7 separate regions of the Homo sapiens genome follow, and regions 2, 3, 4, 5, 6 and 7 are each linked to region 1. The links are contacts of gene promoters, found by promoter capture Hi-C in human tissues and cell types (Jung and others, 2019). All regions are on one chromosome and are shown on one strand. The core of a region is centred on a gene start or on the middle of the fragment in contact, and the rest is flanking DNA. Distances in the headings are between cores, read along the strand shown.

Region 1 (3,819 bases), core at 659-3,158:
AGCTACTCCGGAGGATGAGGCAGGAGAATTGCTTGAACCTGGGAGGCAGAGGTTGCAGTGAGCTATCGCGCCACTGCACTCCAGCCTGGTGACAGAGCAAGACTCCGTCTCAAAACAACAACAAAAAACAAAACAAAACAAGTGTGAGTTCTGGAGTTGCTTCAAGTGGTTTCAATATATTTTGTAAAATTTTGAATTATGTCCTAGCCTCCACATACAGTGTGAAGTTACAATATTTTCCAATCAATGCTGAATGACATACCATGAGTCTCAATTACTTTATGATTACCTTTTTTCTTATTTTTTGAAAAACATGACTGGGCATGGTGGTTCATGCTTGTAGTCTCAACACTTTGGGAGGCCAAGGGCTCCCAAACAGATTGCTTGAGCCCAGGAGCTTGAGACTGGCCTGGGCAACACAGCGAAACCCCTGTCTGTACTAAAAATATAAAAAATTAGCCGGTGTGGTGGTGGCGTGAGCCTGTAGTTCCAGCTATGCAGGAGGTTGTGGTGGGAGCATCACCTGAGCCCCCGAAGTTGAGGCTGCAGTGAGCCCTGATTGCAGCACGGCACTCCAGCCTCAGCGACAGGAGTGAGACCCTGCCTCAAAAGAAAAAAGAAAAGCAAGTTATTTCTTCCTGGCAAAGTGTGTTGAGGCACTTTTGGGAACCTGTCGTATTTGGCAGAGTCCTAATATGAGGTCTAGAGCTCATTATGCCAGGATTTGGAGCCAGAACTCCTGGCTTAGTATGATTATGGGTTCAATTTTTGAGACACCAATAGCTCAACCTACCTGCCTGATTTCTGTCTACAGTGTTTTCAAACCGCCCTCTTATTTGCCACTGCTTGGGCTTTACACTGCTGATTAGAGCCATGCTCTCGATACCGTCTCTGTATTTGTTCACATGGCTCTTTCCTGAGAGCCCACATGGGCCAGATAGATCCTGCCCTGGCCAGTGAGGGGGACACACCCCAGGCAGGTGGCCATGTCTCTCTTCTGACCCTCCCTTCCCTTGCACACGTGGCTGCCTTCCCGTGCATCCTTTGTTGATTTCTTCCCGCGGCTCCTTCTTTTGGGGAGTTTGCTAGGGCTCTGTTCTCCACCCTCACTCTTCTAGAGCTCGGCCGGGACCACCTCAGCCTGTATCTTTGGTCCATGTGATCGCCTGGACCTCCTGTCCGCACCTGTTTGTGTCCAGCTGTGAGTCTGACACCGCCGCCTGAGACACCGGTTTAGGAAGGAAGATGAATTCAGTTATGATCCGGCTGCAAAGAACTTCTCCCAGATCCTCACCTCAGCCATCAGGGCCGCCTGCCCTCCCCTATAACCCTGGGTGGTCCTCCGTCTGGCGCATTCCCCCGTATCCTGCAGGGGTCTGCCTGGCGTTACTTTCTCCGAGACCTTCCTGACCTTCTTCTTGCCCCTCTCCCCCCATATTAGGTGCAAGGATGTCCTGGTACGTCTGACCCACGAACGCAAATCCCTTCTCTGGTTTGCCTTCCATCTCCTCACCCTGAGGTGCTCAAGAAACGTATGTAGGGTCCCGGTCCGCTCAAAGCGCACAAACCTCCGAGGCAGCAGCCTCTAAATAGAGAGGCCAGGGAGTGACCGGAGGGCATTTTCTTGTACACACAGGGGTTGCCACGGAACTCCCGTGAAACAGACTCCCGGGCCAGCCGCGGCGCTCAAGCTTCCCCTGAGGTCCTAGAAAGGCTCACCCTGGGCTCGCTCGGGGCGGCGGCTCCCGGCAGGCCTAGCGCGGCGGGGCGGGGCCGGCGGCACGAGGACCAGGCAGCGCGGGCAGCACGCGCCCGGGCCGGAGCCCGCCCACAAGGGCGCGCGGCGCGTTCTGATTGGAAGGCCTCGAGCGGGGGCGGGGCTTCCAGGGTGCGCTTCCGCCGTCGCCTGTTCCCGCCGCGGAGACCCGGCAGTTGGGGGATGCCGACGCCTGGGCCTTGAGGATGCTGCGGAAGCTCACCATCGAGCAGATCAACGACTGGTTCACCATCGGCAAGACGGTGACCAATGTGGAGCTGCTGGGCGCGCCGCCCGCCTTCCCGGCAGGGGCGGCCAGGGAGGAGGTGCAGCGCCAGGACGTGGCCCCCGGCGCTGGTCCCGCGGCCCAGGCTCCGGCTCTGGCCCAAGCTCCGGCCCGGCCGGCCGCTGCGTTCGAAAGGTAGGACGCGGGCGGGGCGGAGGCGGCTGGAGGGCGGCCGGGCGAGGCCTGGCGACGAGGGCACGGGCCATCCAGATCCTTCTCGCGAGCCCGTGCCCTCTCGCGGGGCTCCAGGGACCCCTGACCGTCCAGGGCGAGTGGTCACTACACAACCCGACGCGCGGCCCAGAGCGGTGCCTGTAAGGAAGCTGAGCTAGAGGTTTTTTTTTTTTTTTTTTTTTCAGTTCTTAATGTTTAACAGACTAGTTTTTGAGGCACTCAGGTTTTCAGGATAACGGAGCGGAGGGCAGAGGTCCCATAGGCCCCTTCCCTCCCAGAGTTTCCCCTGTGAGCATCTGCGTAAGGTGTGGGTATTTGTGACAGTCGGCGAACCTGCATCGCTGCGTCTTCGTCACCCGGAGGCCATCGTTACAGGAGGGTTCACGCCTCGTACTGGACGTTCTGTGGGTTTGGACAAACGCCTAACGTCACGCATTACAGAGTTCACTGACCTACAGATCTTCTCGGCCCCACTGTTCCTGCCTCCCTTTCCCTACACCACGTGGAAACCACTGATTTTTTTACTGTCTCCATAATTTTGCTTTTCCATACTGTCATCTAGTTGGAATCACACAGTATGTGTAGCCTTTTTGATGGGTTTCTGTCACTTAGTATTAGTATGCATTTGGGGGTTCCTCCATGCCTTTCCATGGTTTGATAGCTTCTTTCCTTTTAGCACTGATTAATATTCCACTGTCTGGATGTACCACAGTTTATCTCCATTCACCTACTGAAGGAGAGCTTGGTTGCTTCCAAGTTCTCCCCCCACCCCCCGAGATGGAGTCTCACTTTGTTACCCAGGCTGGAGTGGAGTGGCGCCATCTCGCCTCACTGCAATCTCCCCCTCCTAGGTTCAAGCGATTCTCCTGCCTCAGCCTCCCGAGTAGCTGAGGCTACAGGCATATGCCACCACGCCTGGCTAATTTTTGTATTTTTAATAGAGACAGGGTTTCACCATGTTGGCCAGGCTAGTCTAGAACTCCTGACCTCAGGTGATCTGCCCACCTCAGCCTCCCAAAGTGCTGGGATTACAGGCGTGAGCCACTGCGCCCGGCCTGCTTCCAAGTTTTGGCAAGGTTTTTGTGTGGACATAAGTTTTCAACTCATTGGGTAAATACCAAGGAGTGCAAATGCTGAATCTTTGTTAAGTTTCACAGACTCCCTCCTCATCTCACTATTCTTTAAGTAGCTACCATCAGTTACTCTGTTCACTTGATTTGGGTGGAAATAAAAAGCAAGAGTATATCCTCTGTTTTTAGAGGAAAGACGTAGATTTGGTGAGTAGAAACACCTGCTCCCTCTTCTCGCTCTTTAAAAAGGCCCTGGGAGAAGTACTTCCAGCTTGGAGTATCTCCGTCACTCTTGCTCAGTCCCCAAGTCCAGCACGCTTTACAGTTGAGAAGGTGGTTTTGTTTTTCTTTTTCTTGGTTTTTTTTTTTTGAGACATAGTTTCGCTCTTGTTGCCCAGGCTGGAGTGCAGTGGCGCAATGTTGGCTCACCACAAACCTCCGCCTCCTGGGTTCAAGCGATTCTCCTGCCTTGGCCTCCCGAGTAGCTGGGATTACTGGCGTGTGCCACCACGCCCAGCTTATTTTGTATTTTT
Region 2 (3,808 bases), core at 683-3,182, 230 kb before region 1:
CAGCTGGTACTGTTAGGCCTGAGGCCATTTGAAGCTGGCATCATTTGAAGTCCTGGTTAAGTGTAATTTTTCTATTTGTTTTTTCATGCAGGAACGAAATAATTGTCTGGCCGACTCGCGAGCTCTGAGTGCCAGCCACACTGACCTGGCCCACTGAGAGCCAGCAGGGCTAGGTAACCTGTCTTGGGAGTGTGAGACCGCCCCGCCCTGCCACGCCCCTCACCGCCCTGCCCGGAGGCGCCAGCCGCACTCCTTGGCTTCCTTTCCTAGATAGTGACGTCCACCAACCTTGGAGGTGCCTTTTCAAAACACCCGGGAGGCCGTGCCTCAGCATTCTGTTACTCGGCCTGCAGCCCCAGTGCCAGGAGCCACCCCGACCGCGACCCGGCCAGGCTGGCTCAGGGAGGCCGAGGTGGCGCTGAGGTGGCTTCAGCACGCTGGGGATTGGCTCCTGCTCACGGATGCTGTTGCATTTCCTGCCTGCCACCTTTTTGCCATGACACCAGACTCTCTTTTAAATTGTAATATTGTAATAAGGCTGTAAATTAAGAATCTGGAAACATAAAGTACCCCTTTCAGAACGATAGGCATTTAGTGATCTATGGCAGTAAAGCCTGAAGCTTAGCGGACACTGGTCAGTGGGAAGTGAATTCCTTCCCAGCTGGAGCATCTTCCGGGTCTCTCTTTCCAAGGTCCCCATGCCTGTGGCCCTGGGGCCCCATGCCCCCTTTTGAGCTGTGTTCTCCCGGACGCCCCTGCACACGAAGCCCATAGAGACGTGTGTTTCACTTTTTTTTTTTTTTTTTTTGAGACGGAGTCTAACTCTGTTGCCCAGGCTGGAGCGCAGTGGCCCAATCTCGGCCCACTGCAAGCTCCACCTCCTGGGTTCACGCCATTCTCCTGCCTCAGCCTCCCGAGTAGCTGGGACTACAGGCACCCGCCAGGCGGATCACAAGGTCAGGAGATCGAGACCATCCTGGCTAACATGGCGTTTCACTTTTTAAAAGCTTAAGCTTTATGGAATGAGGGAGCACGGTGGACTCTGACAGGAACCTTTTCAAATCAATGCTGAGGCTGTATTTCTTAGCCGTCCACAAACTAGTCCATAGGTAAAGAGCATACAAAACAGACGCCGAGGTGATCAGTGATTCCAAAGGCTGACGCTCAGCAGCGCCACCTCCATGCCAGCCAACTAGGCTACGGGATGGAGGGGCGGTCTGTGAAACACCAGCCATCCCGTGAAAGCTCAGCTTGCCACTGTCATGTAACAGGGTGGGTGGTGGCACAGCAGAGGCTCACACTTGTCACCTTCAGCCTCTAGAAGCTCCCCGTGGGGCACGAAGGCTGGGGACAGAGTGTCCTGAGGTTTTGTTACAAGGCTAGACTTTAAAATACCTTTCAAAGTTTCATCCCGCCTCATGTCGCAGGACTGCTGTGTTTGTGAAAGCGCGTTTGTTTCCACAAGACAAGCTCCGTGTAGTCGCCAGCGGGTGCCTGGCCCAGGAGCTGCCCTGTGGAGCCAGCGTTGTCCCCGAGCTGCTCGCCTGTGGCCGTGGCTCCTTTTCTGAGGCTCCTGACTCCATTCTTGCAGATTCTGGTGGATCAGGAGCTTACATTCTAAATGCTACATAGAGGTGTTGAAGAAAATTTCATAGGTTCTGTAATAGTGGATGGGATTAAAAGAAAAAATGTTAAATTATATATATATATATGGCTGGGTGCGGTGGTTCATGCCAGTAATCCTATAATCTTAGCACTTTGGGAGGCTGAGGCGGGAGGATCACTTGAGCCCAGTTCAAGAACAGCTTGGGCAACACAGCGAGTCCCTGTGTCTAGCAAAAAAAACCATGTGTATATATATATATATGTGTGTGTGTGTATATATATATATATATATATACATACATATATATACATATATAATTTGATGGGTTGTGAGAAGCCAACCCCCCCCAAAAAAAGGGGGGTGTAGAGCAGCTTCCCCTGACAGGTGCCGTGGCTGCCCCCGTAGTGGGCTATGTCTGTGCACAGGCGACAGGGAGGAGGGCTCCGGAGCTTCCCTTGTGGTGGGGGTGCCTTCTCCCTGTGAGGATGCTGAGCAGAGTTTGGAACCCAGACAGTTTCCCTTAGTGACAGTTATCTGGAAAGGAAAAAGGGCATTTAGAAGGAATAAACATAGGGCTGAATATGGAGTTGAATTTTAACCTCTTCAGACTGATGGGTGCAGACGAGGTTGTGTGGGGCCTCTGTGGAGCCTGCTGTGGCTTCCAGCCATGGGACTTTAGGGCCGAGGTGGCCTCTGCAGCACTGTGGCTGTGGGAGCACTGTGTGTTGGGGTAAGAGAAGCCAGGGGGCCTCCCTGAAGCCAGCTCATAAAGGAAGGTTCGTGTTTCAGAGGGAGGCGGCAAGGGAATCTGAGTACCTGAGTCCCCGATGTTTGAACCCTTCCACCCAATAGAAGTGCGGTGATTTCAGCCATTTCCCATCTGGCGGTCTGAATTTTTCCCTTCAGAGGAGAGAAGTGGTGGGCCCAGGCATCCCTCCTCCTGTGTGTGGTCGTTCTGGTGAGAGGAACCCCACGCGAGAGTCAGCACCTGTTTCTTCAGAGTTGCTGTCAAAATAATCACTGCGCCCCCGCCCCCCGCCCCCCCCCACAGCAGCCGTGTGTGCAGCGCCCGTCCCCAGCAACCATGGCATGGGAGCGTCTGGATCTGTGGGCGGACAGCATATCTCTGGGTAGTTGGTGCAGCTGTGGCAGAAATCAGGCCCCTGGGGAAGTCCTGTGACATGGATGCTTCCCTGAAGCAGCAGCAGTGTGTGGCTCAGGGGTCCTCAGAGGCCGGTGGTGCCCGCGGGTGGCACGGGGCACTCTCATGGGCAGCACTTGGTCTTGTGTTTACAGTATTGGAGGGATTCACATCGTTGTTTTCTGGATTAAGCTGCTAGGAGTATCATGTACTTAGAAATTCAGTGTTTATAGTAAGATGTATTAAACATTGCTAATGATGTATCGTTACAATGTATAACAGGTTTTCCATTGTCATAACTGTATGGAATTTTCTTGGAGGATGTCATTAGCTTCTGTTTGCACTGACTTGTGAGCTGTGTGTACGCTGTGGTCAGATTTCTGAATGCTGTAGAGCACTTACCAGCTCTGACCGTGTCTTGCTGGGGCCAGCAGGCTGCGTGTGCAGCGGGGCCAGCTGTCTCAGGGCTGATATGTAGACGTGTATTCTGTTTACAATTAGTTCCCCAACTCTGTGGGGAAGAACTTAAGCGGTTTTAGTGTTTTATAATATGGTGAGGCAATGAGGGTCAGGGCGCGTGGTCCCTGAGGGAGGGTCTTCAGGGCAAGACCCATGGCCCTGGCCTGGAACTGTGCTCCCCAGGGCGTGGTGCCTCCCTAAGGGGATGGTCAGTGTTCTGGGACTGACTGCCAGGCCAGCCCGTCTGCAGACTCCTGTGGTGGGAGTTCCCTGGGACGGGAAGCCCCTCGGCCCCTTCCCTCCAGGGGCAGGAACTGAGCCAGCATGGGCGGGGCCGGCCGAGCTTCCAGGCGTGTTTTCTCTGTTAAATGTACCTCTGTCTTTAAGCTGTCTCATTTTCTAATCGCTGGCATGTCTTGCCTAGAAAAGCATTTGGAATTGCTTATGTTCAATTACAGAAATAAAATGTCTTACTTGCCATTGTAGAATTCCTGCACTTTTGCAGAAAGGCTGTTTTGTAAAAATCCAACCCCAAAATAACTTTTTCCCATGTTCATGCCAGTGATTCTTAACTTTAGGGTCATAGAGAGCCTTGATAACAT
Region 3 (4,056 bases), core at 1,300-3,799, 190 kb before region 1:
TGAGCAGCATGACAGGCTGTGAGATCGGAGGAGAAGAGTATATGCTGAGGCTCTCCCAGTTGTCACTTGGTCTTAGGGGTCCTGGTGCCCGTGGCGCGGCAGTCCAGCCACAGTGCTGGGCCTGCACAATCAGCCTTTAGGTGAACTGGAACAGGAAGCGGAACCCCCAAGGCGGCCGAGCAGAGTGGGTACTGGGAGGCATACACACTGGGCAGCAACACTGGACATGTTTCCATACAGAGGCTCCTTTGGTGATGAAGGGAAGAAGGATCATGTGTGGGAAGTGTGAGAAAGGATGAGTGTCCGATTCGGTGACGGGGGGCAGGGCGGTCGCAGGGGAGCAGGCCTCACAGCGGCGGACAGTGTTCACTGCTGGAGGGGGTGATGGCCTCGGGGCCAAGTCAGTAAGAGCTTCTGTCTTCACTGGCAACCAACCGGGGGTTATGGGACTTCTTAATGGCAAGAGGGGTGGGTGTTTTGAAAGTGGGTATTTATTTGGATTTATAGTAATTGGCAAAATTCAGTCCTTGGAGGCGAAAGTACCTCTCCCAGTTAATGGGCAAACTGGAGAAAGGGCCTCACCTGGAAACTGTAGGATTCACATTGTGGACGCTGTCTGCTAAAGTGAGCACCATTAAGACCATTTTCTAGCTGCAGCTTTCCTGGAAAACAGCACAATAATCTCTTAAGTGGCTCCTGGTAGCTGGCAAGACCATGCGGTGCTCCAAAAGGAAGTTCAGGCGAGTGTTCGCTGTCGGGGTTTGATCCGTGGATACAGCTGGGAAGCAACGGAGCCGCGTCAGGACAGGAAGCCACACACAGGGAGCAGGGCCAGCCAGACCCGACCCCTGCTCCTCACCTCAGCCACCCTGGACAGCCGTGCAGCACCCTTGTCCCTCAGGCCTACGCTCAGCTGCACCTCTACACTGAGACCCACCCAGCCCTCTTTAAAATGTGCCTTGTACCCCCAGAATATCCTATTTTTCTCACAACACTTCATGCCACCTAAAGACTTGTGACTGCCTGTGGCTCTCAAGGTCATAAGCTCCCCTGGGCAAGGGTCTCTGCCTGGCTCCCTGCTGTGTTTGCCTGGCCAAGAACGTTGGCTCAACAGCAAGCCCCTGGCAGCTCTGCAGGGCACAAAGAGAGCAGAGGCAGCTCCCTCTGCCAGAGGACTGAGGGAATCACAAGTCCAACACAGAGCTAGCAGCCTGCACGTTCCCACCTCTCCCTCCACTGGAGAAATTTCTAGGCTGCAGAGATTTCTAGATTGGGGAAAGTGTGGGTGGGCTGAGCCGGGCCACTTGGTGAAGTTCATCATGAACCGAGCTCATTGAGCGGCCCCTCACTGGGGCACTCAGCCTCCGCACGGGCCTCCATGGCATAAGCATGGCTGGGGGAACCTCCTGGGGCCCTGCCTGAGCCTCATGCCAGCTCTGCCAAGTAGGCACCTCCCCCTCTACAGAGGGGGCTGCTGAGGCTCAGAGAAGCGAAGCCTCCCTCCCCAGCCCCACAGCAGGATAGGACCGCATGCTGTACAGAGACACGGGCAGCTAGTTTCCCAGTAAGTAACCTGAGTGCTCACCCCCAGCAGGTTTTTGGGCACATAGCCCTCCCGGTCTCCAAGGCGAGCCCACCACCACTCAGTCTCGCTTTCGTCCTTGCGCCTCAGGATGGTGAGGGCGTCCCCTTCGTGGAAGGACAGCTCGTCACTGTTCTGGGCCTCGTAGTCCCACAGAGCATACGCCACACCTTTGTTCATCACACCCAGCTTTTCCTGCACCCCTGGAGCCAGAGAGCAATGGTCAGGCCTCAGCAGAGGGTGGCCTGCAGCAAGGGACCCTGCTCGAGGAACAGGACACAGTCGTGCTGCTGCCGAGGCTGCTCTCAGCAGGCCCCACAGAGGCCAGCGAGGGAGATGAGACACTATTGAAGACTAGGGCCCCCACCCGATACCTCCCCTGCCCGGCCCAGCTGCTGCTCCTGCTGCCGGCCCTTTCTAAGTCCTGCAGGACAGACAGGACAAACGAGCTCCTGAGCCCCAGGGCAAGAGTGTGCTGTTCTTAAGGTGACGCTTAGCAATCACAGCCAGAACAGATTTCTAAAGTCACTAGCTAGAGCAGCTGTGACTGCTCTTGGATGGTAATGAACAAACTACACACAACTGAGCCCTGACTGAGCAGCTACTTGTGGGTTCCCAAGAAAGGGCCCTTCTGTGGGACACTCTGCTTCTGAGACCCAGTTGTGGTGACCATGGGGAGCTTCCCTTCCCTGTGGTGGTGCCACTGTGACGGCAGCCTCCTCCTCACACTGGCGGGACTCACCTGGGGGCTGCTGTGCCTCCCCTAGCCCTGCCACACAGCCTGAGAGTTTGTTGCTTGGCTCTGTTGTGGGAGCTTGGGCCAAAGAGGGCATCACATGGCTGTTTTCATGGATAATTTCAAACCTAGAGTCCAGTGTAGGGCACATAGTATGTTCTCAAGTAATGTGTGGAATAAATGACTTGTGACTGTTTAATACTCAGAATAGAGAAGATGTTCCAGCTCTTGGAAAATGCGGCCCTGGCTAAAGCAGCTTAATTAGGACATGAGCCTCATTCATCAAATGTTTCCGGGGAATGGCCAGGGCCCCAGGCCACCCCAGGAAAGGAGCTGGCCCTGCTTCCAGAAGCAAGGGTACAGAACATCTATGCAAAGCACAGCCAAGTCATTTTGTTTTCTTGGGAATCTGGCACAGAATCCTTCTAACAACATGGACTTTCAAACATGTTTTCAGGAATGAAAACAAGGGGCAGTGTGACCTTCACTCGAGTGAGACATCCTGGCTGCCCCTGAAGAAGGTGGAACAGCTCGAGAATGCTGTGCTGCCAGGCACGGTGGCTCACACCTGTGATCCCAGCACTTTAGGAGGCTGAAAGTGGGCAGATCGCTGGAGCCCAGAAGTTCGAGACCACCCTGGGCAACATGGCGAAACACTGTCTCTACAAAAAAAAAAAAAAAGTACAAAAAATTAGCTGGCTGTGGTGGGACAAGCCTGTAGTCCCAGCTACTTGGGAGGCTGAAGTGGGAGGATCAATTGAGCCCGGGAGGTCGAGGCTGCAGTGAGCCATGATTGCGACATTGCACTCCAGCCTGGGTGACAGAATGAGACCTTGTCTCCTGTCTTAAAAAAAACAAACAGAAAGCTGTGCTGAAGCTTCTCTGGCACCGGCTGACTGTTGCCATGGCAGTACCACAGCAGACAGCACCACTGTGGCCCCAGGCCTCCCCTGCGTACCATATAGAAACTGGGAGCACTGGATGTAGCCTTCCTCCATCTCCTCACACTTGTCTGCAGCAGTTTCAATGTCGCTTATGGTTGAGGCAAAAATGGCGGCACCACTCTCCACCAGCTGTTTGCAGAGGTGAACGCTGTTACAAGAGGCAGCGCAGTGCAGCGGCGTCCTGGAATAGAGCGTGGGTGAAGGTGCAGGCCTGGCACTGCCTGTCCTGTAGGACGTGGCCCTCAGAGATTTCCCTCTAAGGAATCTCGCGGAAGGCGTTCACCTTTGTGCCATCAAGTCTCAGTGTTGTTTCTTTAAAGGCAGGATTTCCATGAGCCAATTGTTTCAGACCATACATACATTTTGAAAAGGGGGCACAGGGAATGGGTTAAGAAATGGCCAATCCACAGATGTTCACGCCACACTGCATGGTGATGTGAATGTACATAACACACTGAAACACACATTTAAAAATAGCTAAGATGTGAAATTTTATGTTATGTGTATTTTACCACGATTCAAATGCAGCACAATGTCAGCTGTCTGAAAGTTCAAAATAACCCCCACAGGAGACCAACACGCCTCGCCCAGCAGCAGAGCTCCCGAAGGCAAACGGAATGAACAATGCGACAACCTACATGCCTGACCCAGGGGGATGCTGAGGCTGCTTTTCACACGGAGCACAGAGTGTGAAGAGTCCATACGGAACATATGAGAAGGGGAAGATGGAATGATTCACAGAATGCTTAGACTGCAATGTTAATGACGAGGCACAGAAAGAGCATAACCACAGC
Region 4 (3,992 bases), core at 134-2,633, 210 kb before region 1:
CAATAGCTCGAGGGGACATGTACGGTAACAGTCGCCTGGCATGTGGTGATGCTGAAGGGGACACTGAGCTACACTGTGCTGGCTGCGTGCTTGGGGCCGCTAAGGTGATTGTCGGGAGGTGACTCAAATGTGCAGATAACCAGTTGTGGGAAATAGGTTTATTTGAGGTGGTTTGGAATGGGGAGAGGAGAATTTGGTAGAACTTGGCAGGTGGGTAACATTGTCCTTGGCTTGGTGGCCGTGTGCCGATCGGCATCATCGTCATATCTGTAAACGTGTTGGTCCATTTTCATTCCAGCTCTGTTCTTAGCCAGGGGAGTCTGAATCCAGCCCAGTGCCCGTCTCCCGAATACCAGCTGCCTGACCGGGCTGGTTTATCAGTTTGGGCCCATGAGGGTTATCCCTTTAAAATGCTGCAAAACCCCCTGGGGAGCATGTGCACACATGCACCTTTCTCCGAGAGGTGGCCTGCAGCTCTCAGATTCTCAAGGCTCTGACGCAGAACCAGTTGAGAATCGTTTCTCCAGTCTGTGCCTCCTCAGGAACCTGTGGGGCAGGGGAGGCAGAGGCGGCGTGTAAAGCTTCGTGCGACACCACTTTGGATAGAGGTGCTTTGGGGGTGTGAAGGAAGCTTCAGATGATCTCTGGGGCTTGTCTGACTCTGCCATCAAATATCCGACACTGACGCAAGGCAGTGGGCTTGGGGGTGGGCGGTCCGGGCGTGCAGCCATCTGGGCTTGTCACAAGCAGCTGAGATCCTGAGTTTTATCCTTAAAATCCTTGCCGCTGTGCACCCCTCCCACCTCCCATCCGTGGTGCTGGCAGAAGAATGACCGCAGCTCCATGCTGGCGGGTTGACACTTTGATGGATACTCTAGATTCAGAGCCAGGAAGGAGAGAGCACGTGCGCGTCTGATCACGAGCCTGGACTCGGATGAGGAGAGATCTGAAGTGAGGACTGTTGCTAGAGGCGTCTGGAGCTGTGCAGCGGGGAGAACAGGGGACCCTGAGTTCTGCGAGGGTCTCACAGGCCAGGCCGGACAGGGCTTTTCTTTTGCAGGGAGGAGTGGCCAAGGCTAGAAAGAATCAAGCTGGGGAGGTGGGATGGGCCAGTGGAGGGTCAGGACCTCCAGCAGATCAGAGAGCTGAGGCCAGAATACAAAAATTAGCTGGGCGTGGTGATGAGTGCCTGTAATTCCAGCTACTTGGGAGGCTGAGACAGGAGAATCACTTGAACCCAGGAAGTGGAGGTTGCAGTGAGCTGAGATCGTGCAGCTGCACTCCAGCCTGGGCGACCAAGCGAGACTCCGTCTCAAAATAAATAAATAAATAATAAAAATTCAAAAATTAGTCGGGCGTGGTGGTGTGTGCCTGTATCCCAGCTCAGGAGGCTGAGGCAGGAGAATCACTTGAACCGGGAAGAGGAGGTTGCAATGAGCCAAGATTGTGCCACTGCACTTCAGCCTGGGTGACAGAGCAAGACTCTGTCTCAAAAAAAAAAAAAAAAAAGTCCAGGTAAGGGAATTGTGTTCCAGTTGATCATGAGGAGAAATGGCCAGTGTTTTCTGAGGCAGAGAATGGGAATTTGGAGGGCCTTGCTGCAGGTAAGCAAGGGGGGCATCTGTGATCTCCTCTGGCTCGTATGGGGAGGGTGGTTCTCGGTGGAAGGCTTTCCCAGCACACTGCAGGGTGGGGGGTTTCATAATTGTTTCCAGGATCTCAGCGCTTGGGTAAAGCTCACCCCTGTGAGGTGCCAGGGGCTGCCAGAGCCTCCACAGGTGTTCTGGGAACCAGCAGCCTCATGAGATACTGCCAGGGACACCAGCGAGCTCCTCAAGGGTCCCTGTGGCTGGCTAAGAGCTTTTTCTTTTTTGAGACAAGGTGTTGCTGTGTCACCCAGGCTGGAGAGCTGTTACTGATGTTAGGTAAAACTGAGACTTTGAAGCCACAAAAAAGGATTCCTGGGCGTCCTGTGGGAGGCCAGGCCGCCTGTAGCATAACCCTCCCAGGCTGTGATCATAGTGTCTGCACCTGTCACCGTCTTCAAACTGTCTGACAGCTTCAAATTGTAGAAAACTGATAGTAACGCACGTGTTTCTAGTCCCTGAGATGCAAGTAGATTTTGTCTCTCAGAGGTGAAGTTGATGTCCTCTCTCACACACCCCACCGCGGGGTCCCTGTGAGAGGAGCCAGTTTACAACTCATATCTTCCTTCCTCACGGCCTGTATCCATGTCTGCTCTTTGGATTCTCCTTTGAACTGGGTTTTTAGTCTTATTGGTTCTCTCATTAACTAATGAGGTAAATCTTTGACGTGGGTTCCTTTTCTGTTTGTAGGAGTTACGCTCTACCAGTTAAACGTGATTATCTTTCAATAAAGGTGCATTGATACATGCATTTAAATTGTTTTTTGATTGGCGAGTTCTTGGGGGGCTGAGAATTAGTTGACTGTGGGAGCCCCACCAGCCAGTGGGTGACGCTTCTCACTGTAGTGTGGGAGCTCAGAGTGCGTGGTGGGGCCTGATGTTTTTTGTCACCCCAGCCTCAAAGGGAGGGCAGGCCTATGTCCATGTCCAGCCTGTGTCCTGAGACTTGGTTCTTTTTATAACTTTTTTTGAACATCCATTTAAACTCCCTAAACTATACTTTCAGATTATATGGAGGCGCTTTTGGTTTCTTGCGTGCTGCCAAACCCCACTCTTTGGGGTGGGCCGGGTGCTGGTTCTGAGGAGCTGCCCTGTGACCCTCGAGGGGCCGTTCCTGTTGCATTGGAGTGGGGGAGCGGGTCTCGACCTGCAGGTCTCTAAGGAGCTCCATGCTGGTGTCTGCCGCACTGTGGAGGAGTGATGGGCTTCATGATTTCTGTTTTTTGTTTTGTTTGAGACGGAGTCTCACTGTCACCCAGGCTGGAGTGCAGTGGCGCGATCTCGGCTCACTTCAGCCTTCACCTCCCGGGTTCAAGCCATTCTCCTGCCTCAGCCTCCCGAGTAGCTGGGACCATAGGTACCCGCCACCACGCCCAGCTAATTTTTAGGTTTTATTTTGTAGGGACAGGGTTGTGCTATGTTGCTCAGGCTGGTCTGAAACTCCTGAGCTCCAGCAGTCCACCCACCTCAGCCTCCCGAAGTGCTGGGATTACAGGTGTGGCCACCACGCCTGACCTGGTTTCTTCTTTCATTGCTCGCGGCCATCTTGCTTACCCACCGGGAAGCCTAGTTTATGGCATCTGCCTTGACCGCCTCCGAGCATGTCATCTGGCAGGGTGGGTGCAAGTCAGTTGTGGTTTACTGGACTAGCAAGGAGGGGACAAGCGCCCAGGGCTCTGACTCCTGTAGGCAGCCAGGAGAAGTGTGTTCCGAAATTTCACTGGGAGCCGTCTGCATGCACCTGCCCTGATCCTCGCTCCCTCTTGGCCCCGCTTCCCTTGAGACAGCTCCTTCTGTGTCCATATAGCTTCCCGCCGAGCCTGTGATTGGCCCTGCAAGGTGGCCACGGAGGCCTCCCATGGAGGTGAGTGCCAGGCGCCCCAGAGAGGCCTGGGCCGAGGCTGCCTCTGTGACGCCACTGCACAGGGCACAGAGGGCTCCTGGAGAGCACTTGGGCCCCGCCGTCCATCCTAGGGGGCAGTGTCTGTCATTAGCGGGTTTATCTGCTTGGCTTGGGCAAGAGGGTCAGGCAGCAGATGGGTGTTATTAGGGGCACTGCCCAAGCTGACCTTGCCTCACTCTCCCTCTTCATCTCTGTGTGTTTGTCACAGCCTGCACCTCTGGCCTCGTGGCCCTCACTAAACACCTTTATTATTTATTTATTCATTTTCCTCACTAAACGTCTTGAGGCCTGTTTCATTGGGTTGTTCTTGGAGGTTTTAGTTTCCCCAGCGAATGTGCTGGTTTGAAAGTCTGCTCCAGCCCACGCTGGTGGTGACACATGTGTACCTGGGATGTGACGCAGAGGCTGGCATTCCAGACACCGCTGGCCACCTACGGTGAAAAC
Region 5 (4,126 bases), core at 1,604-4,103, 150 kb before region 1:
ATAAGTCTAAAAGTTTTTCTCTAGACAGTTGAAATGTTATCTGGCCTAGGAGATGATAGGCACAGTTGAGTCTTGGGCACCATATGGAAAACGGTGCCTGGGTGATTACATTAGCAATGAATGCTTCTGGAAATAAACATCACATTTATGGTCAATTGATCTGACAAAGGTGTCAGGCAATTCAGTGGGAGAGAGAATAGTCTTTTCACCAAATGGTGCTGGGATAACTGGATATTTACATGGAAAAGAATTAATTTGAATCCTTTAACTCACACTATACACAAAAATTAACTTAAAATTGATCATAGAACTACATGTAAGAGCTAAAACTATAAAGCTCTTAGAAGAAAACACAGGAGGGTAGGATCAATTGGTCTTGGCAACTTACTGGATATCCTAGAATAAAGCAAAAACTGACTCAGATTTTAAAACTGCTTGGCTGAGAAGACAGGAAAAAGTTCTTCCAGGACACCTAAGTCGAATGTGTCTTTCCTCTTTGCTGATCTGGCTCTGAATCCTTTCACTGTAGCAACTCAAGAGAACTCTATGCTTAGTCCTGAGTGGTCCTAGCAAACCACGGAACCTGGGGACATCTTGGAAGCTTCAACACAGGCATATATAATGAGAACAAATCAATTTGCCTTTATAGCATAATGACAAACCAGCACAGTAGTATTAACCTGACTTGCTGGCCTACAATTTTCAGAGAGCAGAACTTCCCCGGCTTCTTAGTTCAGCAGCTGCTGATGGACATCAATCACACCAACTCAGCATCCTGCCCTTCTCTTCCAACCCACACTCCCCCCTTTCTTCACAGCTCTCCTTAATCTATCCTTAGATGTCTCAGCCCAGAAGTTAGAAGGCTTATTAGCATGTCATTATTCTATAACCAAGGTATACACAGAAACATTTTGGGGGAAGATGTTTTTCATATCTTAAAATGCACGTAAAACCGCTCTGTAGACAATAAAGTGTTTTAGAAGGTAACGTATTATTAAGCTTAAAAGGTAGATGTGTAAGCCATAAAATACAGTAACATCTTTGATGTGATGCTTCCAATCCTAAATTATTCCTCTAGAGGAGCTCTCATACCTTCCTCTAATTACAAGCCACATAAAGGATAAAAACACATTTTTCACTTTGGTTTCAGGTTTCAATTTTGTTGATCTTGAAATATACACATTATCTCCTTATTAACAAGAAAAAACTTCATCAAGGAAAAGGTCTCATCACATCAAAACTGGTCTACCCAATTTATCATACATTTGGAATGCTTTCCTTTTGAGTCTCTTCCATATATTATATCATATACAACACACCTCACTTCTTCAACACACGGCCTACTCAATGTATCTATTTAATCTTCCCTGAAGTTCAGGTCATGGTAATTCTTTCTTCCTTTCTTTCTTTCACTTATTATTATTATTATTTTTTTTTTTTTGGAGACAGAGTCTCGCTCTGTCACCCAGGCTGGAGCGCAGTGGTGCAATCTCAGCTCACTGCAACCTCTGTCTCCTGGGTTCAGGCGATTCTCCTGCCTCAGCCTCCAGAACAGCTGGGATTACAGGCACCTGCCATCATGCCCAGCTAATTTTTGTATCTTTAGTAGAGAGAGGGTTTCACCATGTTGGCCAGATTGGTCTAGAACTCCTGACCTCAGGTGATCCGCCTACCTTGGCCTCCCAAAGTGCTGGGATTACAGGAGCTAGCCACCGCGCCCGTCCCATGGTAAATCTTAGAACTCAAAAAGATCTTCAACATTCTGTTGGACAAACAAGCTATAAATGCTTGCTAAAGTGTAACCTGGATGTTCCCAAGCTTGGCATGGCAACATAGTCACATGGGGAGTTTTCTAGGCCCCACTCCAGATTTACTGAATGAAAATTTCTACCAGTGGTGTGTGTGCGTCTATTTCTTAAGACGTCCTGAAGCAGATCCGCCTGGAAGAACTCTGTAGAGGCTCTTGATTTGCAGTGGACAAATCTCTACTCCAATGACAGAAGGCAGGAATGTGAAGAGGGAGAATCTATAATCTTAACAACAGGAATATTTCTCCCTGAGTGGCAGAAGGATTATGATATTGAAACCAAAGAGAAGAAAATATAATCTAGTATACCACATGGCTCTGCAGTGGATAATACCTGCAAAATCTAAAATAATGAAACTGCTAAATGGTTTTCAACTTTATAACCAATCTACAGACAAAGCAAAAAAGGTTTATAGTTAGATAACAATATACAAATATTGTCAACCTTTACAACATGAAAGTCTGGTACAGCTGCAAGAGCTGGAAGGAAGGAAGGAAGGGAGGAAGGGAAGGAGGGAGGGAGGGAGGGAGGAAGGAAGGAAGGAAGGAAGGAAGGAAGGAAGGAAGGAAGGAAGGAAGGAAAGATGGCAGGGGCCTAATATTATCATTTTACAAAGAGCAAGGTCCAGAGATACTGTTTAAAGTTGATAGTACAAATAAACAGAGATTTAAGTATATGAGGTAGGGTCACAAATATAGCCAATAAAAGAACTAGCAATTCAATAATAAGTTGGGAAGTAGAGAGGTGAAATAACTTGCTCAAATTCAGCTCATTAGAAAGCTCCGAGGCCAGTGGGCTAAACATGGGCCAGTCACACTCTAGATTCCATGCACTTTACCAGTATCTCACCATGCCCAGCCCTGTGTGAGGAAGGAACTTGCCTAAGCTTAGATGCCTAGTTAGTGTTACAGCCAGAAAAAGAAACTCAATCAGGCTGGGCGCGATGGCTCACGCCTGTAATCCCAGAACTTTGGGAGGCCAAGGTGGGCGGATCACAAGGTCAGGAGATTGAGACCATCTTGGCTAACACGGTGAAACCCCATCTCTATTAAAAATACAAAAAATTAGCCGGGCGTGGCGGTGTGCGCCTGTAGTCCCAGCTGCTGGGGAGGCTGAGGCAGGAGAATGGCTTGAATCCGGGAGGCGGAGCTTGCAGTGAGCCCAGATCAGGCCACTGCACTCCAGCCTGGGCGACAGAGTGAGACTCTGCCTCAAAAAAAAAAAAAAGAAACTCAATCTCTAGTCTTAAAATTACTTGTTACAGTTATCTTCAAATTTTCAGAAAAGACCACATTAAAAATGTCCCTATTTGGTTCATTCTTTCAACATACACCAACATTTCGGCTTTTTTTGAGATGGAGTCTCACTCTCTTGCCCAGGCTGGAGTGCAGTGGCACGATCTCGGCTCATTGCAACCTCTGCCTCCTGGGTTCATGTGATTCTCCTGTCTCAGCCTCCTGAGTAGCTGGGACTACAGGCGCATGCCACCACGACCAGCTAATTTTTGTATTTTTAGTAGAGATAGGGTTTCACCATATTGGTCAGACTGGTCTCGAACTCCTGACCTCAGGTGATCCACCGACCTTGGCCTCCCAAAGTGCCAGGATTACAGGTGTGAGCCACCACGCCCAGCCAACACCAACATTTCTTACAAAGAGCTCCTCCACAGCTCCCCTCACCTATGATAAGCATTCCATCTATTCTCCAAGTCTATACCACAATGATGGAGGAAGACACTGCAGCCCACCATCCATTGTGTCTGTCAAAACCTGACAGAGGATCCAGAACCAACACTGAAGATGCAAAGCAAGTCAGCCTACTCAACTCTTAGTCTACAAGCTAAGCCCATAGCCCATCTGCCGCCACAGAGATGCTGTGTTTACGTGCACAGAGGCACCCACTGCCTGCTCCAGGAGAGGACATGGCAGCAGCATGTGAAGGGCAGGTGGAGGGCTGCTCCAAAGGAGACATGATCTGATTCATGGACCATTATGTGAATAGGTAACACCACTCAGTGACTGCTGCTTTATAATTTCATATAATATTTTGAAATATTCAATAGAAATGACAATATCTACCCCCAAAATAATTATTTAAAAATAAGTTATCACCCAAACTCATTACTACCGGTAAAAAGCAATTAAAAAAAAAAAAAAAACAGGGTCTTACTCTGTTGACAAGGCTGAAGTGCAGTGGTATAATCATGACTCATGGCAGCCTCAAACTCCTGGGCTCAAGTCATCATCCCGCCTCAGCCTCCTGAGTAGCTGGGACTACAGGCAGATGCTACCACATCTGACTTTTTTTTTTTTGAGATG
Region 6 (3,758 bases), core at 530-3,029, 130 kb before region 1:
GCTTCCTGTAGCTGTCATTAGGCTAACAATTGAGGGCCTGTCCTTTTACTTCTAATTTAGTAATAGTCCAATGTTTATCAAAGTCAAGTTTCTCTCCATGTATCCTTAAAATTCTTTACTCTGAATTCTAAGTAAAAAGCACAAGACCTTGCAAAAAAATTGTAATTTATATACCCACAAGGGACTTGTATCTAGAATACATAAAGAACTTTTACAATTCAGTAACAAAAAGACAAATAACCCATTTTTAAAATGGGCAATGGGGTGGGGTGCAGTGGTTCACACCTGTAATCCCAGCACTTTGGGAGGCCCAGGCAGGTGGATCACTTGAGCCCAGGAGTTTGAGACCACCCTGGGCAACATGGCAAAACCCTGTTTCTACAAAAATTAGCCGGGCATGGTGGTGCATGCCTGTAGTCCCAGCTACACGAGAGGCTGAGGTGGGAGCACTGCTTGAGCCCAGAAGATAGAGGTTGCAGTGAGCCAGGATTGTGCCACTGTTCTCCAGCCTGGGCAACAGAGAAAGACACTGTCTCAAAAATAAATAAATAAATAAATAGGCAAAGGAACTGAATAGACATTTCTCCAGAGAAGATATAAAAATGGCCAATATACACATGAAAAGATTTTCACCATCATTAGTCATTAGGGAAATGCAAATCACAATCACAATAAGACATATCTTCACAACTACTAGGATGGCTAAACTCAAGCAGACAGTATCAAGTGTTGATGAGAATGTGCAGAAATTCTCCACATCGTATACTTCGTATACTGCTGCAGGGAATGTAAAATGAAGCAATTGCATTAGAAAACAGTCTGGTGGTTCTTGAAAAGGTTAAACACGAATTACCATATGACCCAGAGATTCCTAGGTTTATACTACTAAGAGATATGAAAATATATGTCCACACAAAAACTTGTACATTGTCAGGTGCGGTGGCTCATGCCTGTAATCCAAGCACTTTGGGAGGCCATGGTGGGTGGATTGCCTGAGCTCAGGAGTTCAAGACCAGCCTGGGCAACATGGTGAAACCCCGATTCTACTAAAAATACAAAAAATTAGCCAGGCGTGGTGGTGCGCGCCTATAGCCCCAGCTACTGGGAGGCGGAGGCACAAGAATCGTTTGAACCCAGGAGGCGGAGGTTGCAGTGAACCAAGAGCATGCCACTGCACTCCAGCCTGTGGGAGAGACCAAGACTCCATGTCAGAAAACAAAAAACAAAAACAAAAACAGTTTGTACATGAAAGTTCATAGGAGCATTATTCATAATAGCCAAAAAAAAAAAAAAGAGAGACAGCCCAAACATCTATCACTCTGGCCTGGGAGACAGAGTGAGATACTGTCTCAAAAAAAAAAAAAAAAGTATACAAAAAAGCATTTTGTAAAACTCAGTCCTGTGCAATATAATTACATTTATTTTAATTACTCAGTTCTTTATTACCACAGATAACTAAGAACTACAAGCAATATTTTCCATTTGATAAATACTAAATTATATGTACTTAGTTACTTTTTTTCCCCATCTTTATCAGAAAAAAAGCAAATCCAGCACAAGCTTAGCTAAAAGATGGTGATTTGATTTTATCAATGTAACAATCTTTACAGGACCTAATACATACCATTTCCCCTCCACACTTCAGCTAAATGGCAGCTGCCTTCTCCAGGTTCCTTGCAAAATTCTACAACATCTCGACAGGTTGTTTCCGGTGTTATAGGAACTTCTGTTAAAATCTGTTCATTGTTGCTCAAGAAAACAGTTAATATCATCTGTAAGACAAAAGAGTAAAGCTGTAATTTAGATTCCTTATCACAAACAGATTAATCTGTAAATTTAAAGTGATCCCTCTACCCACCCCCCGCCCCCAAAATGCCTACAGAATTATTTTCTGGAAATAATAATAGATAAGCTGATTCTAAAGTTCATGTAGAAAGATGAAAAAGACAAGTCAGGAAAATTCCAAATGAGGAGAGTAATAGAAAAGAAAGAGCACTATCTTATAAAGTGCTCAAAACAACATGACAGCAGTAGATATATATATAGATCAATGGGGCAAAGTCATACCCCAGAAATAGACCCAATTACCTATGAAAAAAATGGCAAATGATGAGGGAGGTATCTCAAAAATCAAGGAGGGAAAACGACTATACAATGAGTGATGTTTGAGCAAAATATATCCATGTGGAAAAAATGGTTTCATACCATATATCGTACACTAGCAGAAGTTCCTAATAGATCAAATATTTAGATACAAACCCTAAAGCCATAAAAAGTCCAGAATAAAACCTGGGTATATTCCCTTTTATAGCTTTGGAATAAAGGTGCTGTTTCAAACTATGACTCAAAAATCAGACACTATTTTTAAAAAGACTGATATTCAAGTACATTAAATATAATAATCTCTTTTTTTTTTTTTTTTTGAGATGGAGTCTTGCTCTGTCGCCCAGGCTGGAGTGCAGTGGCGCGATCTCGGCTCACTGCAAGCTCTGCCTCCCGGGTTCATGCCATTCTCTTGCCTCAGCCTCCAGAGTAGCTGGGACTACAGGCGCCCGCCACCACGCCCGGCTAATTTTTTATATTTTTTAGTAGATACGGGGTTTCACCGTGTTAGCCAGGATGGTCTCGATCTCCCGACCTCGTGATCCACCCGTCTCGGCCTCCCAAAGTGCTGGGATTACAGGTGTGAGCCACCACACCCGGCCAAGAATCTCTTATAATCCAGAAAAACAAGGTAGGGGAAAACATTTGCAACTCATATTACAAATACAAAGCTAATCCCCTCAATACATAAAGCGCTCCTAAAAAATGATAACAGAAAGACCAAAAATCCAATTCCTTTAAAGAAATTAGCCAGGAAAGTGTATTAATATATCACAGTAAAAGAAAAATAAATGACCCTTAAACATAAAAATACATTATAGTGTATTTGAAAAAATAAAAATCGTCTAGCCTTACTTTATTTTATTTTTTTGAGACAGGGTCTCACTCCGTCACCCAGGCTGGAGTGCAGTGGCGTGATCTCAGCTCACTGCAACTTCTGCCTCCTAGACTCCAGAGATCCTCCCAAGTAGCTGGGACTACAGGCATGTGCCACCACGTCCAGTTAATTTTTGTATTTTCTGTAGAGACAGGGTATTGCCATGCTGCCCAGGCTGGTCTCAAACTCCTGAGTTCAAGCAATCCTCTCGCCTTGGCCTCCCAAAGTGCTGGGATTACAAATGTGAGCCACTACACCTGGTGTTTTTTTGTTTGTTTGTTTGTTTTTCTTGAGACAGAGTCCCACTCTGTCGCCCAGGCTGGAATGCAATGTCGCGATCTTGGTTCACTGCAACCTCTGCCTCCCCAGTTCAAGCAATTTTCCTGCCTTGGCCTTCTGAGTAGCTGGGATTACAGGCGCATATCACCACGCCCAGCTAATTTTATTTTATTTTATTTATTTATTTTTTTGAGATGGAGTCTCGCTCTGTCACGCAGGCTGGAGTGCAGTGGCGCAATCTCGGCTCTCTGCAAGCTCTGCCTCTTGGGTTCACGCCATTCTCCTGCCTCAGCCTCCCGAGTAGCTGGGACTACAGGCGCACGTCACTACGCCCGGCTAATTTTTTGTATTTTCAGTAGAGACGGGGTTTCACCGTGTTAGCCAGGCTGGTCTTGAACTCCTGACCTCATGATCCGCCCGCCTTGGCCTCCCAAAATGCTGGGATTACAGGCGTCAGCCATTGCGCCCAGCCTTATTTTGTATTTTTAGTAGACACAGG
Region 7 (3,788 bases), core at 970-3,469, 170 kb before region 1:
AAAATTATTTTGTACTGAATATATCTTGTGCCTATTATTAAATTAGAATCTACTAATTTGTTTCCACTTCCTAAGGTTTCCAACCCATGCTAATGAAAGATAGAAAGATGAGAATGTTTTAATACAACCATTGCCAGACCCAGGAGTTACCTGTAGTTCTTGGTACAGTCTTTTTAACTCCACCGCCGCTGGTCCCGTCAATTTGCCATTGTAAGACTGGAACCCATTCAGTTTTCCTTTCTTTAAATCTTCCAATTGCTGACTAAGCTGATCAACCCTTAAAATTGCAGTCTGTACTTCCTGCTTCTTTTCCTGGAACATGGCACTGAACCTTTCTATTTCAGCAGCTATAATTGACCACACAAGAAAAGAATAAAAGATTTAGTTGATCCTTTTTTTTTTTCATTTCTATACACTGAACTTAATTCTAGTATCATTTAGTGCCAGACCGTGGAGAAAGCTGTGATATGCAGAATCCACAACACATTTCAAAAAGCCTTTGGGACACATGTATCTGATTACTCATAAAGCAAACAATTATATTTGCATTAATTCCCGACTATTCTTTAGGGTAATCAGTCCATAAGCTAGTTTGTTCAAGTGACTTAGAAATCTCTGAGACCAAAGGTTTTGTGAAGGCAGGGCCATCCAAGCCTCTCTCGTGCATCACTGTGACTTAAAGTAGGCACAGACTGAACCAATGAATAAAATAAGAGTTCATACAGAAAAAAAGTGAGCATCAGCATAACTTATCTTAATGCACGGATACAAGTTAAGTTATTCAAGAAAAACAGACCCTCTGAATGAGTAAGTCTTGGAGCGCCCCACCCTAATCCAAAGGGCCGCTGGTACCAACGTAACAAGAGGATTTTTCTACTGCGTCTGAGGGCCGCAAGAGATCTTTTTATTTTTTTTTGAGACAGGGTCTCATTGTCATTCAGGCTGGGGAGCACTGGCCGGATCGTGGCTTACTGCAGCCTTGACCTCCCAGGCTCAAGCAATCCTCCCACCTCAGCCTCTCAAGTAGCTGGGACTACACAATTTTAAGATCACTTAACCTAACCCACCCATCCTTTTAGATGCAAATAACAGAGCAAAACTTGAGCACGCTTGCTATTTAGTCCTGTGAATTTGTGACTGAATTGTCAGGCAGTTAGACTATGTTTCACTGGATCTGGGCCTGGTGAGAGTGGTGTCGAGGGGGTGTTGCAGGCACGTACACAGATTGCCGTTCATGATTTTGCTGTAGTCGACTTGTCCTCTCATTGCACGAATTTTCTTCAGCTTGTTCTCCTGGGCTTCAACTCGTTCTTTCAATTTCTGAAGCTTTTCATTTTCAGAAATAGACTGCTGCTGACGGCGCTCCTGTTGCTTTAGAAAATGTAAACGCTGTTCCTAACAAAAGAAAGAAAAATGTAACTTTGAAAATTGAAGGCTGGGCGCGGTGGCTCACATCTGTAATTCCAGCACTTTGAGAGGCTGAGGTAGGTGGATCACCTGAGGTCAGGAGTTCGAGACCAGCCTGGCCAACATGGTGAAACCCTGTCTCTACTAAAAATACACAAAGTAACTGGGCGTGGTGTGCGCCTGTAGTCCCAGCTACTTGGGAGGCTGAGGCAGAAGAATCGCTTGAAACCAGGAGATGGAGGTTGCAGTGAGCTGAGATCGTGCCACTGCACTCCAGCCTGGGTGCCAGAGTGAGACTCAGTCTCAAAAAAAAAAAAAAAAAAAAAAAAATTGAAACTTATGATTACTTTTATATACTCAAAAAGAAAAATGTGAGAGTATTCTACAGTATCACTCATCTTAAAGAATACTAAAACACTAGAGGAATCTTATATCAGACCATAAAAAACTGAAATTACTGGGCGTACCTAAGTATGAAATAGTAAGAGCTGCGGGATTTTTAAGAGAGAGGGTTTTCTTTTTCTTCTTTTTTTTTTCTTTTGAGACGGAGTCTCGCTCTGTTGCCCAGGCTGGAGTGCAGTGGCATGATCTCGGCTCACTGCAAGCTCTGCCTCCCGGGTTCACACCATTCTCCTGACTCAGTCTACCGAGTAGCTGGGACTACAGGCGCCCACCACCATGCCCAGCTAATTTTTTTGTATTTTTTTAGTAGAGACAGGGTTTCACTGTGTTAGCCAGGATGGTCTCGATCTCCTGACCTCGTGATCCACCCGCCTCGGCCTCCCAAAGTGCTGGGATTACAGGCGTGAGCCACCGCGCCCGGTGAGAGAGGGTTTTATTACACTCATCTACACCAGTTAATATAAGCGCTTCTGCAGAAAACCTTCCAGCAGGAGAACATGCACTAACACAGTCTCCTCTTCACTCTATCACATCCGTGATGTTCCAGTGAGCCTTACTTTCCTGGTGCAAGTAATACATTTCCTGCTGCTACAAAGTGGCTTCCAAGAATCTAATTCATTTCCTAAAGGAAATGAACACTGACCAGCAGAGAATTTTACACTGAAAAGAGATAAAGGTGATCAGTAAAGAGATAAATCTTCAATTTGTTGTGATACTGAACAATCAAGGAAGTGTCTGCTTCTTCAGGATTATTTTCTTCAATAAGGAAACATTTTAGAGTCAAACAATACCAGAACAATCTAAAAATAACAATATATGCAACATTCTTCAATAGGGTTTTCCCTATTAATGTGAAAACATACCTTAAAGAGTCAACATTAAGTATTCATGATCCCATATGTATGCATAAAATACACCTACATAGGGAGAGGTTTAAGGTGTGATTATGAAGGCACTACATACTACACTCTAAGGTAAAACAATATGTGCTTAAATATTTAAGATGTAGCATTAACTTGTGATTCACATTACTGAAAATATCTATAACTATTTTGAACAGCAATACTCTTGGATCAATATTTGGAAAAAAATAAAAAGCAGAATTAGAAAATTTTTACAATGACATAATACTATGTATATTTTATCTTAGAAATCTTATTAATGGGATAAAGTACTTTCCAATTGAACTTAACTTTTAATCATTTTCTCATAAATCCAATAAATATTGAGACAACTTTTTAAAACAAGTCCAACCCAAATTATTATTTACATAAAAGTGGATAGTACAATGAAGTATATACAGTCATTCAATAAATTTTAAAAAATCAGATTGGACATTTTAGTCATAAAGAAAATCTCTCTACAGAAGAAAGCAATAAGAACCTAGTTGGTAATGTTTAAATGTTATCTTTAAAGCCAGTTTGGAATTTTTTTTTCTTTTTTTTTTTCATTTTGAGACAGAGTCTTGCTCTGTCACCCAGGCTGCAGTGCAATGGCGCGATCTCAGCTCACTGCAACCTCCACCGCCGGCTTCAAGAGATTCTCCTGCTCAGCCTGAGTGGCTGGGATTACAGGCGTTAGCCACTACATCTGGCTAATTTTTGTATTTTTAGTATAGACAGGGTTTCACCATGTTGGCCAGGCTGGTCTCGAACTCCTGACCTCAGATGATCCACCTGCCTCGGCCTCCCAAAGTGCTGGGATTACAGGTATAAGCCACCACGCCCGGCCAGTTTCAGAATATTTTAAGATCATTTACAACATGAATCATTTCCAGCAGGCATGTGTGATACATCTGATGTTTCAATTAAATATGACTAAACCATTACTTAGAAAGATTCGAGTTTCAATAACCAGTGTAGAACTCAGTATATATAATAAGCATTATCTATACTCCGCACTGTAATAAACCAAACAAGTCCAGCCTAGAGTAGCACATGGGGAAGCCCCGTTAACCACCTGTCATTGTCTTCGTGGCC

The links. Contacts are between HindIII fragments. The study calls those that stand out against the background at their distance.
Region 2: a fragment that was not itself captured here is called in contact with the fragment with the promoter of TDRD9 in region 1 in 2 of the 25 tissues and cell types used here (mesenchymal stem cells and thymus).
Region 3: a fragment that was not itself captured here is called in contact with the fragment with the promoter of TDRD9 in region 1 in 5 of the 25 tissues and cell types used here (H1 embryonic stem cells, dorsolateral prefrontal cortex, heart right ventricle and 2 more).
Region 4: a fragment that was not itself captured here is called in contact with the fragment with the promoter of TDRD9 in region 1 in 3 of the 25 tissues and cell types used here (IMR-90 fibroblasts, dorsolateral prefrontal cortex and hippocampus).
Region 5: a fragment that was not itself captured here is called in contact with the fragment with the promoter of TDRD9 in region 1 in 12 of the 25 tissues and cell types used here (IMR-90 fibroblasts, bladder, dorsolateral prefrontal cortex and 9 more).
Region 6: a fragment that was not itself captured here is called in contact with the fragment with the promoter of TDRD9 in region 1 in 1 of the 25 tissues and cell types used here (lymphoblastoid cells).
Region 7: a fragment that was not itself captured here is called in contact with the fragment with the promoter of TDRD9 in region 1 in 2 of the 25 tissues and cell types used here (dorsolateral prefrontal cortex and spleen).

What each region holds. Positions count from the first base shown.
Region 1 is chr14:103,926,548-103,930,366 of GRCh38, forward strand. TDRD9 (tudor domain containing 9) reads left to right here and starts at 1,909. Exons shown (of 36, transcript NM_153046.3): 1 at 1,909-2,177. The coding sequence starts at 1,963. The HindIII fragment of the contact is 10,851 bases long and covers 1-3,819 here.
Region 2 is chr14:103,693,462-103,697,269 of GRCh38, forward strand. The region is part of intron 15 of KLC1 (kinesin light chain 1); the gene reads left to right. Among named protein-coding and RNA genes, the nearest start is that of XRCC3, 20 kb to the right of the region's middle. The HindIII fragment of the contact is 3,456 bases long and covers 205-3,660 here.
Region 3 is chr14:103,734,418-103,738,473 of GRCh38, forward strand. It overlaps PPP1R13B (protein phosphatase 1 regulatory subunit 13B), which reads right to left. Exons shown (of 17, transcript NM_015316.3): 15 at 3,277-3,443; 16 at 1,586-1,785; 17 at 1-778. The coding sequence ends at 737. Among named protein-coding and RNA genes, the nearest start is that of ZFYVE21, 21 kb to the left of the region's middle. The HindIII fragment of the contact is 7,486 bases long and covers 1-4,056 here.
Region 4 is chr14:103,717,964-103,721,955 of GRCh38, forward strand. All of the region lies in intron 1 of ZFYVE21 (zinc finger FYVE-type containing 21), which reads left to right. Among named protein-coding and RNA genes, the nearest start is that of ZFYVE21, 4.2 kb to the left of the region's middle. RefSeq lists enhancers at 211-721, 3,339-3,839. The HindIII fragment of the contact is 3,090 bases long and covers 1-2,928 here.
Region 5 is chr14:103,773,851-103,777,976 of GRCh38, forward strand. The region is part of intron 4 of PPP1R13B (protein phosphatase 1 regulatory subunit 13B); the gene reads right to left. Among named protein-coding and RNA genes, the nearest start is that of ZFYVE21, 60 kb to the left of the region's middle. The HindIII fragment of the contact is 5,946 bases long and covers 1-4,126 here.
Region 6 is chr14:103,795,747-103,799,504 of GRCh38, forward strand. PPP1R13B (protein phosphatase 1 regulatory subunit 13B) reads right to left here. Exons shown (of 17, transcript NM_015316.3): 2 at 1,625-1,772. It overlaps LOC124900347 (small nucleolar RNA SNORD51), which reads right to left and starts at 1,602; the gene lies at 1,526-1,602. The HindIII fragment of the contact is 5,242 bases long and covers 1-3,758 here.
Region 7 is chr14:103,752,850-103,756,637 of GRCh38, forward strand. PPP1R13B (protein phosphatase 1 regulatory subunit 13B) reads right to left here. Exons shown (of 17, transcript NM_015316.3): 6 at 1,221-1,395; 7 at 151-347. Among named protein-coding and RNA genes, the nearest start is that of ZFYVE21, 39 kb to the left of the region's middle. The HindIII fragment of the contact is 9,352 bases long and covers 1-3,788 here.